4 separate regions of the Homo sapiens genome follow, and regions 2, 3 and 4 are each linked to region 1. The links are contacts of gene promoters, found by promoter capture Hi-C in human tissues and cell types (Jung and others, 2019). All regions are on one chromosome and are shown on one strand. Each heading gives the region's core, a stretch centred on a gene start or on the middle of the fragment in contact. The rest is flanking DNA. Distances are from core to core; before and after follow the strand shown.

The links. Contacts are between HindIII fragments. The study calls those that stand out against the background at their distance.
Region 2: a fragment that was not itself captured here is called in contact with the fragment with the promoter of HAS2 in region 1 in 1 of the 25 tissues and cell types used here (mesendoderm cells).
Region 3: a fragment that was not itself captured here is called in contact with the fragment with the promoter of HAS2 in region 1 in 2 of the 25 tissues and cell types used here (H1 embryonic stem cells and mesenchymal stem cells).
Region 4: a fragment that was not itself captured here is called in contact with the fragment with the promoter of HAS2 in region 1 in 1 of the 25 tissues and cell types used here (H1 embryonic stem cells).

What each region holds. Positions count from the first base shown.
Region 1 is chr8:121,640,060-121,642,759 of GRCh38, forward strand. HAS2 (hyaluronan synthase 2) reads right to left here and starts at 1,381. Exons shown (of 4, transcript NM_005328.3): 1 at 794-1,381. It also overlaps HAS2-AS1. RefSeq lists an enhancer at 2,040-2,663. The HindIII fragment of the contact is 13,134 bases long and covers 1-2,700 here.
Region 2 is chr8:122,192,933-122,195,650 of GRCh38, forward strand. No RefSeq gene overlaps it. Among named protein-coding and RNA genes, the nearest start is that of SMILR, 370 kb to the right of the region's middle. The HindIII fragment of the contact is 4,191 bases long and covers 1-2,718 here.
Region 3 is chr8:122,168,659-122,171,532 of GRCh38, forward strand. No RefSeq gene overlaps it. Among named protein-coding and RNA genes, the nearest start is that of SMILR, 400 kb to the right of the region's middle. The HindIII fragment of the contact is 4,132 bases long and covers 1-2,874 here.
Region 4 is chr8:122,230,689-122,233,467 of GRCh38, forward strand. No RefSeq gene overlaps it. Among named protein-coding and RNA genes, the nearest start is that of SMILR, 340 kb to the right of the region's middle. The HindIII fragment of the contact is 5,557 bases long and covers 1-2,779 here.

The sequences.
Region 1 (2,700 bases), core at 131-2,630:
TGCCTCCGGGCGGCCGGCGGGCTGGCCCGGCGAGGAGAGGAGGGATGCGCGCCCTCCTCCCGCTCCTATCTGCGGGTGCCACCGCCTGCGTCAGGGACCCCTGGCCCGAGTAAGCCCAGACTGACGAGCCTGACACTTTAATGGGGTGCGGGAAGTGCAAAGGAGGGGAGGCCCGGGAAAGGGGGGAGTGGCCGAGAGGGGATGGTAGCTGCGAGGAGGTAGAGAAGGACCCTCCTTCTCCAGGGTCCCAGCTTGTCGGAGCTGGAAGCCCAGATTGCTTAACCCTTTGCATTCCCAGCAAGAAGCGACTTTTTCACTTAGAAGTAAAACGCGCTGGGCTATTCCAGTTTTTCTCCCCACAGTGTGTGTGTGTGTGTGTGTGTGTGGGAAAAAAAGAAGGGAAGGGGTGGGGCGGCTGTGCAGAATGCATTTTCCTTACATTGGGAATTCTTGTTTCCTAACTCTGGAGCCCCTCTGCTGCTCCGGAAGATGCAAAATGGAAAAGTACATCTGAGGACGTGCAGCCTTTCCCAGGCAGAGAGGCTACCTGTGTCCCCAGAAAGGCAGCGGATTTCTGGCGAGAGCCGCAGAAATGGGAAAAGAGGGCTATGTTGCTAAGCCTGACAGTGACCTGAAATATTCCCTGATCTTCAGTCTGTTGGAAATTTTTAAACTTCCAACTTTTCTATCGAAACTGGCTTAAAAATTTTAAAACAATTATAAGGATGTCTTCCTTCTCCCTGGCCTGTTGGAGGACCTTCATCCTTCACCAAAACGCGCCAGTGTAACGTACCTTGTTCAGCTCTTGGTCATAAAGTCGTCCTCAGCCTGTCTGTGTGGTCCCGGAGGGTCGGTGGCGGGCAGTTTCCAAAATTGAGGTAATAAGAGATCAGATGAATTTGAGACGACCGGCCAAAAAAAATAAGAAATTTAAAAACAACATTTAAAAAGGATAGGGGAGTCTTAAATGTTTGATTCTTCCCCACTTTAAAAAATAATTTCACTAATATTCTCTTTATGTTTCCGTTGCACTTCAGTCTAATTCTTAAAAAAATTATGCTTTAAAAATAAATTAACTTTTCTTTTTTCTTTTCTTTTCTTTTTTTTTTTTTTTTTTTTTTGGGCTTCAGTCTTTCTGCCCCCGATAACAGAAAATCTCTTTTTCGTCTTAAAAAAAAAAAAAAAAAAAAAAAAAGCCTGTGGAAGACTCAGCAGAACCCAGGAAGCGCAGAATTGGGAGAAAAGTCTTTGGCTGGGGCTGTTTCAAGTCTCTGGTTCAATGGGCTGCTCGAAGCCAGGACTGGGTAATTCTTTCCAGACGTCTTGACTTCTCCTTCCCCGCCGTTGTTGCCCTTCTGCCTCCTCCAACTTAAGGGGGTCTTAACAAGTGAGCTGGTGGGTGTTTTAATAGGGCGGCGGAGGGAGTGGGGGGGTGAGGGAAGTGGAGAGGGAGGTGTGGACTGGGGAACCCTGAGGGGAGGGAACTGGGAGCGCGGGCGGGCGGGCGAGCGGGAGGCGGGGAGGGGGAGAGGGAGAGAGAGAAATTGGCCATTCAAAGCCTTCTCTGAGCTACAGGCCGGTTCTAAACTCCAATGAATTCAATTAACTTGATTGCTAACGTGTGCAGAGAAATGCAAGACACATAGGGGGCCACCACCTGATTCCTTACTTTCCTCTGGCGGCGGAGGTGGGAGCCCTCGCCTCTTGGATTTCCCTGAACTCCCGCGTTACAAGTTCCCTCCAAGCGATAAACTCCCTGTGGCGCTGAAGTAATTTGTTTTAAAGCCAAATGGTGCCCTTCAGCTAAGTAACCGACCCAAGGAGGAACAGTTGGGAGGGGTGTGTGCACGTGTGTGTGTGTGTGTGTAAGTGTGTGCGTGTGTGTGTGTACCTGGAGCCTTCGACAGCCGGCTGGGACTCTAAAAAGATCGCGCTGGTCCACCACTTGTTAACCCTTTCTTCCCGCCAACTCAAAAGTTTCTGAGCTGACGTCAAGTGTCAAAGCCTTTCTCATAAAGAGGTTTCTGCCGTGGGTGGGCGGAAAACATAGAAAAGTAATTATATGTATATTTTTGCTCAATCTGGTCCCCTAACGTAAACATACTCAAACAGCGCGCATTAAAAATAAAATAATAAAAATTGTTTTCTGGAGGACTTATATTTAGCCATCTTGAAGGAAATGGCTTAACTGGCTTTTGCTTTTTGCAAGCCTTCTGCAAAGTTGACGAGGACAAATATGTCTTGCTTGGAGATGGCCTTTCCTCGTCGTTTTCACAATGCCCCAAGGCTGGGTAGAGTTCGTTTTTTGGTTACTCCTCCCCCCACCACTCCGCCTCCTTTCTTTCTCTTGGACCTTGCCAACAAGCCTGCTGATGACTGAAAATGGACAGTAGGTGGCACTGTTGAGGAAAAAATGAGAGTGACTTTACAAATTAACCAACTTGGTCTTGGGAGATTGCGCTGAAATTGTTATAGGGTAAAACAGATTTTTCTTTCTTTCTTTTTTCCTTCTTCCCCTTCCAAGGATCTTCTGAGGGGTGGACTTCTTTGGAACTCGACAGGACCTTGAAGACTGGGTTCTTAGTCCTTATCACATATATGGGCTATAATGAATAAGTCTAAACAGAAAAGTCGAATAAACTGGAAATGATGCTTTCATCACGTCGCACAAGGTGTAGTGTTGGGGGATGTGATTAGGGG
Region 2 (2,718 bases), core at 101-2,600, 550 kb after region 1:
CTGCAACAGCAAAATCCTGAGTTTTCAGCCTGCTGGCTTGCCTTACAGATTCAGACTTGCCAGCTCCACAGTAGCATGAGCTAGTGCGTTAAAACCTCTCTCCATTTCTCCATCTCTCTCTCTCTCTTTTTCTGTGTGTGTGTGTGTGTGTGTGTGTGTGTGTGTGTGTGTGTGTATGTATTTCTGTTTCTCTGATGAACTCTAACACATATTATGAAAATATTTTGTTTTGCTTTTTATAAAACCATTTTATTGAGATACAATTGGCATATATTAAACACATTTAAAGTGAAAAATTTGGTAAGTTTTGACTTATATATTGTGCTATGAAATGAGCAGCACAATCAAGGTAATCAACACACCTGTCGTCCCTGTAAATTTCCTTTTGCCTTTTTGTAATCTCTTGCTTCAAATCCTCTCCTGACTATTTCCATGTCTCCAGAAAACCACTGATATGATTTTGTCATTCCACATGAGCTTGAATTTCCTAGATTTGTCTATAAGTGGTATCATGATCATGTGGTCTGCAAATCAAGACAATTTTGTGTCCTTTTTAGCAATCTGGAAATGTGTTATTTCTTTTTTTCTTGCATTATTGCACTGACAAGAACTTTAGGTATAATGTTGAATAGAAGTAGTTAAAGAGTCCATCTCTGTTTCGTTCCTGATCTTAGGAGGAATGTTTTTATTCTTACACTACTAAGATGTTAACTGTTTTTGTGTGTGTTTGGATTCTGGCTTTTTAAAAACATTCTTATTGGGTTAAAATTGTTCCCCCAGGCCGGGTGCGGTGGCTCAGGCCTATAATCCCAGCACTTTGGGAGGCCGAGGCGGGCAGATCACGAGGTCAGGAGATAGAGACCATCCTGGTTAACACAGTGAAACCCCATCTCTACTAAAAATACAAAAAATTAGCCGGGCCTGTTGGCCGGTGCCTGTAGTCCCAGCTACTCAGGAGGCTGAGGCTACAGAACGCGTGAACCCGGGAGGCGGAGCTTGCAGTGAGCTGAGATGGCACCACTGCAGTCCGGCCTGGGCGACAGAACGAGACTCCATCTCAAAAAAAAAAAAAAAACAAAAAAACATTGTTCCCCCATTCCTTCATATTACTCCATCTTGGTTGGAAGCAGAAGTTCACCTTTGTGATCTTTTTTTTGGGATTGCGCCCTTGAAATAAGAAATGATGGGGATTCTGGGTATTCAAAAAGTGAAATATGGTAGATACATATTGTCTGTGCCCTTGTAGCAGTGAGATACCCCTTCTTGTTCCACATGATGTGAGTTCCAATTATAGTATCTAATATTGCTGGACCCAAGTATTTGTTCAAGTATAGGCATATGACACGAGGGGAAAATCAGGCTGATTCCATAGAATTAACGACAGTGGCCAAACTGATCTCTTCCCACTGTGTTTTCTAAAATAGAAGAATATACATTTAGGACTCCTAATATTTATCTTATGTAGCCCTTTAAAATGCTTGCAATAAAGTCAAATGAGACTAATCCACAATGGGATGTAATTATTTGTTTATTCATTTATTTTTCTTTAACACTTACAGAATGGCTACTATGTCTCAGGCATATCTTTAAGCACTTTCTACAGTGGAATTGAATTATGGGAAGATAAATAGTTTAGTTAACCTCCTTTGAGATTCTTGAGTCAGTTTTGTCTGATTATGATATGGCATGTGCCAATAAATTAAATGGCTTTCATCGATGAATTTATTTTTTCTTGGGCGAGTTTGAATAGAGATACTGTCTTTTCACCTGAAAGAGACATGTAACATTGTTTTTAGTAACATTGAGTAACTTAAGCAACTTAAAGGTAGTGAAAAAGAAATCCACATTTCTATTCCCTATCCTTAGCACTCTGATGTAAAATGAGAGTTTGTTTTTACTTTCATGAAAACACAATAAAATTATATAAAGTGTGATAGCTGTTATATTTGTCAGTTGATACTCTCTTCCACATAAAAGAGGGAAAATAAGATTGAAAAAGATTGCTGATAGGCTAATAATAATTTTTTAGCAACATTATTACTGTTTAAGAAAGCATTTTCTTATCTACTTGCATATTTTTAAAAATTGAAAGTATGTAGTACTATTATTCTATTTATATATAACAAAAATGTGTCCAACAAGCTGTCATATAATGAATTAATGGGACTTTACAAGTATGTTCTAATTTTCCTCTCCAGTTGGCATAGCCCTCTTTAAAACGTATTAACCTGACAATTTTAGATATTTTTTCTGGGAAGAATTAAATACCAAGTTCTTTATCATCATAAAACATCCAGATCTGGATCTTAGTGCTTTTCTTTTCTTTTCTTTTTTTTTTGTTTTTGTTTTTGAGACAGAGTTTCGCTCCTGTTGCCCAAGCTGGAGTGCAATGGCTTGATCTCGACTCACTGCAACCTCCGCTTCCTGGGTTCAAGTGATTCTCCTGCCTCAGCCTCCCGAGTAGCTGAGATTATAGGCATGCGCCACTATGCCCAGCTAATTTTGTATTTTTAGTAGAAATGGGGTTTCTCCATGTTGGTCAGGCTGGTCTCGAACTCCCAACCTCAGGTGATCCGCCTGCCTTGGCCTCCCAAAGTGCTGGGATTTCAGGTGTGAGCCACCATGCCCGGCCTGTTAGTGCTTTTCAAATTGTAATTGTTTGTTAAAAATGTTGGTTGCTCTTGATGTTTTTCTTTGCCTAACGTTGAGTAACTTAAG
Region 3 (2,874 bases), core at 194-2,693, 530 kb after region 1:
TTTTAACATCAAAATAGTAAAAACAAATGCTTATCTCAAAATAACAGAAAGTTGGCCAGGCATTGTGGCTCACATCTGTAATCCCAGCACTTTGGGAGTCCAAGGAGGGTGGACAACTTGAGGTCAGGAGTTCGACCTCAACCTGGCCAATATGGTGAAACCCTGTCTCTACTAAAAGTACAAAAAAATTAGCTGGGTGTGGTGGTGGGCACCTGTAATCCCAGACTCGGAAGTCTGTGGCAGGAGAATTCCTTGAACCCGGGAGGTGGAGGTTGCAGTGAGCCAAGATGATTGTGCCACTGCACTCCAACCTTTGGGACAGAGCAAGACTCTGTCTCAAAAACAAAACAAACAACAAAAAAAACCAGAAAGTTATTTCAGACAAAAAAAAAATGGATTTCAGGAAAAATCAACTGTTTCACTCTAGTTTTTTCTGTTCTCATAGTAGGCTTCTAAATATTTTGTCATATAACTGCAGCTTGTCACTTATGAAATACTGATTTAGATATTTCTCTTTCATTAGTGTCTATTTCCAGCAAATAGAGAAAAAAGAACCATTTTATACAACTAAAGAAAAGATGAGCTGAAAATCAAGCTTTAGCTGGGATAGAAATGTAAACAATGCTCAATGCAGAAGGTAAATTTTAATCTTAGAACCAAAAGTTGTCTTGCCAATAAACCATGCCAGCAATTCTCAATGCAGGTCATTCACTGGAATCATCTAGAGACTTACAAAAGAAGTATGATACACTGATCCCATCTCTAGAGATTCTGATTCAACTAGTCTGGTGTGAGGCCCAAACTCAGATATTATTTTAACAGTTCCCCACATGATTATAATAAGTGGCAAGAGTTGATTGCCACTGATCGAATCTGTTTTGTTTTTCAGTAATGAGAAACAGTTTATAAAGTGAATTCTAACATGTTTTCCTTTTAAGATAATTTGAAAAGCAAACAAAATAAATTAAAAAACAAGAAAGTTTGGGTTTTCAGCAATAATGTTCAAATATCTCATTTTGCCCTAAAATACTAAGGATCAAATAATTTAAATAACTTACCTAGAGTTGCAGGCCTACATCAAAATATTGATATCAATGTAAAATATATACATAAACTGTTTCTTTGTGTGAAGATGATTAATATTTATTCAAAATATCATGACTTAAAGGAATTAATAATGCATTCTCACATATTGATTTTAAGGTGAAAACTGAGTTGCCTTTTAAAAAGAAACTTCCTCTTCATGAAAGACTTGACTTGCATTAGTATAAGTTATGGGTGTATTTCCTAAGTTGTTAAATTTTGAGGACAAGCTTAAGATCTGATGAATCAGAAAGTGTTGATTCTCTTTGAACAAAGTACCCCAATTAACTGTAGGCCAGTATTTCTCAAAGTGTGATACTATAAATCACACTTGTATTAATATCATACAATAGTCCAAAATGTAGATTATTTTTCTGAGGATGGGATCCCGAAAAGGGTGGATGTTACAACTCTCTTCATGTTTTGGATCTAAACAAAAATTTAAGAACCATTGCTCTAGGTCTAAATCAGGTGGTCCCCAGACCAGACTTTGAAAAACATAGCTCTACTTTCAGGATACATTTTAATCTTTTTTGTTTGTTTGTGAACACTAGCTGACTTTGCTCTCCTGGGAGCTAGTTGAAACATTTTGCACAGGCACCATTTCTGAGCAGGGTGTCACTAACCCACTGCAGTGTGATTCCTACTTAGAAGCAGTGCCTTAGAAATCTCAGTTCCATTACATAAGGTACCTGGTACTTGCTGATTAGGAAGATTAACAGAGGTAAACAGCGGCTTTTAATCTTTTCTAGACTTTCAGGCTCCTATAAACCCAGAACAACTCTCCTGTCAAAATAGAGATAAAGAAGCTTAACTGATGCACAATTCTATTTCTAATATTTCTGTGGCTTTTACAACTCACTGTAGGATCTGGTTTTTGAGTACCTGTTCTGTAAGATTTGTAGCTACTGTATTTCCATGTGGAGAGTAAGAAATTTCTAACATTGCCAGCCTATGATACATATAGCCATATGAAAAGTGGGAGGGCATCATTGCAATGGAAAAACCAATACCAAACTGATTGTAATCCCTGTTTAGGATTTGTGGAATACCTTTATATCTGTAATTACTGTTATGCTTTTTTTGGGTAGAAAATAAATCACACAAGTATGCAGGAGAAATGTATTTAATTGCTTTTTTCACAGTCAATGCAACTATGTCTCACACTATTTCCCCAGTTAATTTTCTACTCTAATCAAATGATTGTCTACTGGGTCCCCAAATACTTAATTTTTATCTATACTTTACATTTTTTCTCTGCCTTCTTAAATTTGACTTGTTCAAAGTGCAGCTCATTCTACAACCAGGACATAACTTCCACTGCATTTTTCCATTAAAATTTAGAAAGTGGTGTTTGTCTTTTTTTTTTTTTTTTTTTGAAGAAGTATTCTACAGGAAGAATTTTGATAGCAGGATATCATACACACTTCTGTTTAGAATTAAAAATAGTTATGTGGTAGGTATAGAAGATTCTGCCATAGATATGCAGAACTGAATGCAAACTGTCTTTTTAATCCGCAAATGAATTTAGTAATATATATTACAAGCCCTAAAATATCTATGACCTTTATGTAAATAATTCTGCCTCTAAAAGTTTGTATTAAAAATGGTCATGGGGCCATCAACATTTTAATTGTAAGGCTCTTCACATAAAGTGGTATTTTAATAGAAAGCAATTGAAAGCATCTAAATATTCAACATGAGAAAATATTTAATGATTATATGACTTGTACAATTATAAATTGAATATCTGACTGCTTGACAAATACTTTCCCTATAATGTTAAAAAAT
Region 4 (2,779 bases), core at 212-2,711, 590 kb after region 1:
TCTGACAGGAGGCAGAGCTCAGGCAGTAATACTCACCTCCTGCTGTGTGGCAGGTTTCTAACAAGCCACTGACTGGCGCCAATCTGCCACCTGGGGGTTGTGATCCCCTGATATGTGACATAAACAAATAGAAACTCATCCCAAGCTCATGGATAGGAGAATCAATACTGTGAAAATGACCATACTGCCCAAAGAAATCTACAGATTTCAATACAATTCCCATCAAAATACCATCATCATTTTTCACAGAATTAGAAAAAAAATCCTAAAATTTATATGAAAACAAAAAAGAGCCCACATAGCCAAAGCAATACTAAGCAAAAAGAACAACTCTGGGGCATCACATTACCAGACTTTAAATTTGGTAACTGCAAGGCTGCAGCTACCAAAACAGGATGGTACTGGTATAAAAAGAGGCACTTAGACAAACGGAACAGAATAAAGAACCCAGAAATGAAGCAAAATACTTATAGCCAACTGATATTTGACAAAGCATACAAAAACATTAATTGGGGAAAAAGGCCTTATTCAATAAATGGTGCTGGGAAAACTGGCACGCCGCATGTAGAAAAATGAAACCGGAGCCCCATCTCTCATCTTATACAAAAATCAACTCAAGATGGATCAAAGACTTAAGTCTAACGCCTGAAACCATGAAAATGCTAGAAGATAACATTAGCAACACCCTTCTGAACATTGGCCTAGGCAAAAAATTCATGACTAAGACCCCAAAACCAAACCCAACAAAAACAAAAATAAATAAATGGGACCTAACTAAACTAAAAGCTTCTGCACAGTAAAACAAGTAATCAACAGAGTAAACAGACAACCCACAGAGTAGGAGAAAATATTTGCAAACTATGCATTCAACAAAGGACTAATATCCGGAATCTACGAGGAACTTAAGTCAGCAGAATAAAACAATCTTATCAAAAAGTGGGCAAAAAACATGAATAGACTATTCTCAAAAGAAGATATACAAATGGCCAAGAAACATATAAGTGCTCAACGTCTCTAATTATTAGGGAAATGCAAATTGAAACCACAGTGCAATACCACCTTATTCCTGCAAGAATGGCCATAATTTAAAAATTAAAAAATAATAGATGTTGGCATAAATGTGGTGAAAAGTTTAAGGAGATAATATAGCATATATATATATATATATATATATATATATATATATAACAAATATATAAATATACATATCTTTAAAAAATATAAGGTGGGTAAGTAGCAAGAAATATTAATAAATTGTGAGGGGAGGGTGTTAGAACGCTTTGGTTCCATGTAGAACAAACTCTGAAGGGTAATTAATGTTCCAGAGTCTGAATGCTAGTATCCTTTGAACTTTCATGTGTCCTGTGGTGTCAGGGTGAGGACTGGATTTCTCTTCTATCACAGATACTGTTAAATATAGTGACCCCCAAGTTTCTCTTCAAAGAATCAGTATGTCAGTATGTTCAGCTCTCTTATTCTTTGACTCTCCATTTTAAAGTTTAACTTCTTGGTTCTCTTTGCTCCCTTCCTTCTAGTTTCAGTAAACAACTTTCCCGCCAGTCCTAATCAGTAGTTCACGTCTGTTTCCCTTGTCACCTGCTTTGACCTGAGTCACCCTAGTCACCTGTTTTGACCTGAGTCACCCCTGGTCACCCGCTCCATCCTGACTCATCCTGAGCCACCAGTTCTGTAACCGCCCTTCCTGCCAAACTACTCACCCCACTACTCTGGCTCGTAGTCCTGCTCTTTTTAAAATAGCCAATCAGAATTAGCTTAGACTGTGAGGTCCAACCCTAGCCAATAGGGGAATGACACAGCAGTAGGGCCCTGTGTCAGGAATAAGCACTCCTTCCCCTCCCCTGTCCAGGTGTGCTGTTGCCATTGTTCCATCCGTGAGGAGCACCCTTTCTGCAGAAAGCAAAAATTGCCTTGTTGAGAAAATTAAATTTATGTTCGAGTGCTATTTCTTTGCAGCACCAGGGAGCAAGCATTTTACATTTCTAACAGATACCACCAGCCAGATTTATACCTGCTCTAGTCAAGGCAGACTTTACCCTTTCCTCTCAAATTTCTCTTGTCCCTGGTTCCCCAAATTCAGAGGAACTAGAAGAAGAGTAAATATGGTAAGTAGTCAAGCACAGGGAATTAAACATGCCCCACCCACCCACACACACTTTCATGCTAGTTCATGAAAATATGGAATACAGTCAGTACCAAATTGGCTGCTGGTTGCAAGAAAATCTAAATTGAACCTGAATTTTGATATTAGATTTTACTGAACTATTTAATACCTGCAAATTTGACTATTCTAACACCAAAATCTAACAAAGAAAGTGATGGAATATTCCAGATATATTATTTGGGGCAGAGAAGGAAGATCAGATAAAAGTATTGAGATTTACAGTTTTTTTTTTAAAAAAACTGTTTCCTGAATGGTTTACATTAAATTTAATCTGTTCATTGAACTGGTTAAAGTAGTTTTCCCAAAGCTAGTAGTTAATTCTTATTTATTGCTTGTCTCCTTACTCTCCTTGCTGGTTTCTGTCTGAATAGATACTTGCCCACTTCAAGGATCCTGCTGGGAAGGATAAAGACCCTAAACTTGACCCTTTTGACTTAGACATTTTTCATGGTTTACAAAATACGTTGTATGTAGTCAACCTTCAATACTTAATATAAACTGACACTATGACTATTTGTTTCAGAGGTTTCCTGAGAATAGAAAGAAATGTATAACATGTCTTTTTTTTTTTCTAGCATGAGCATGTTTTCTTCTTGT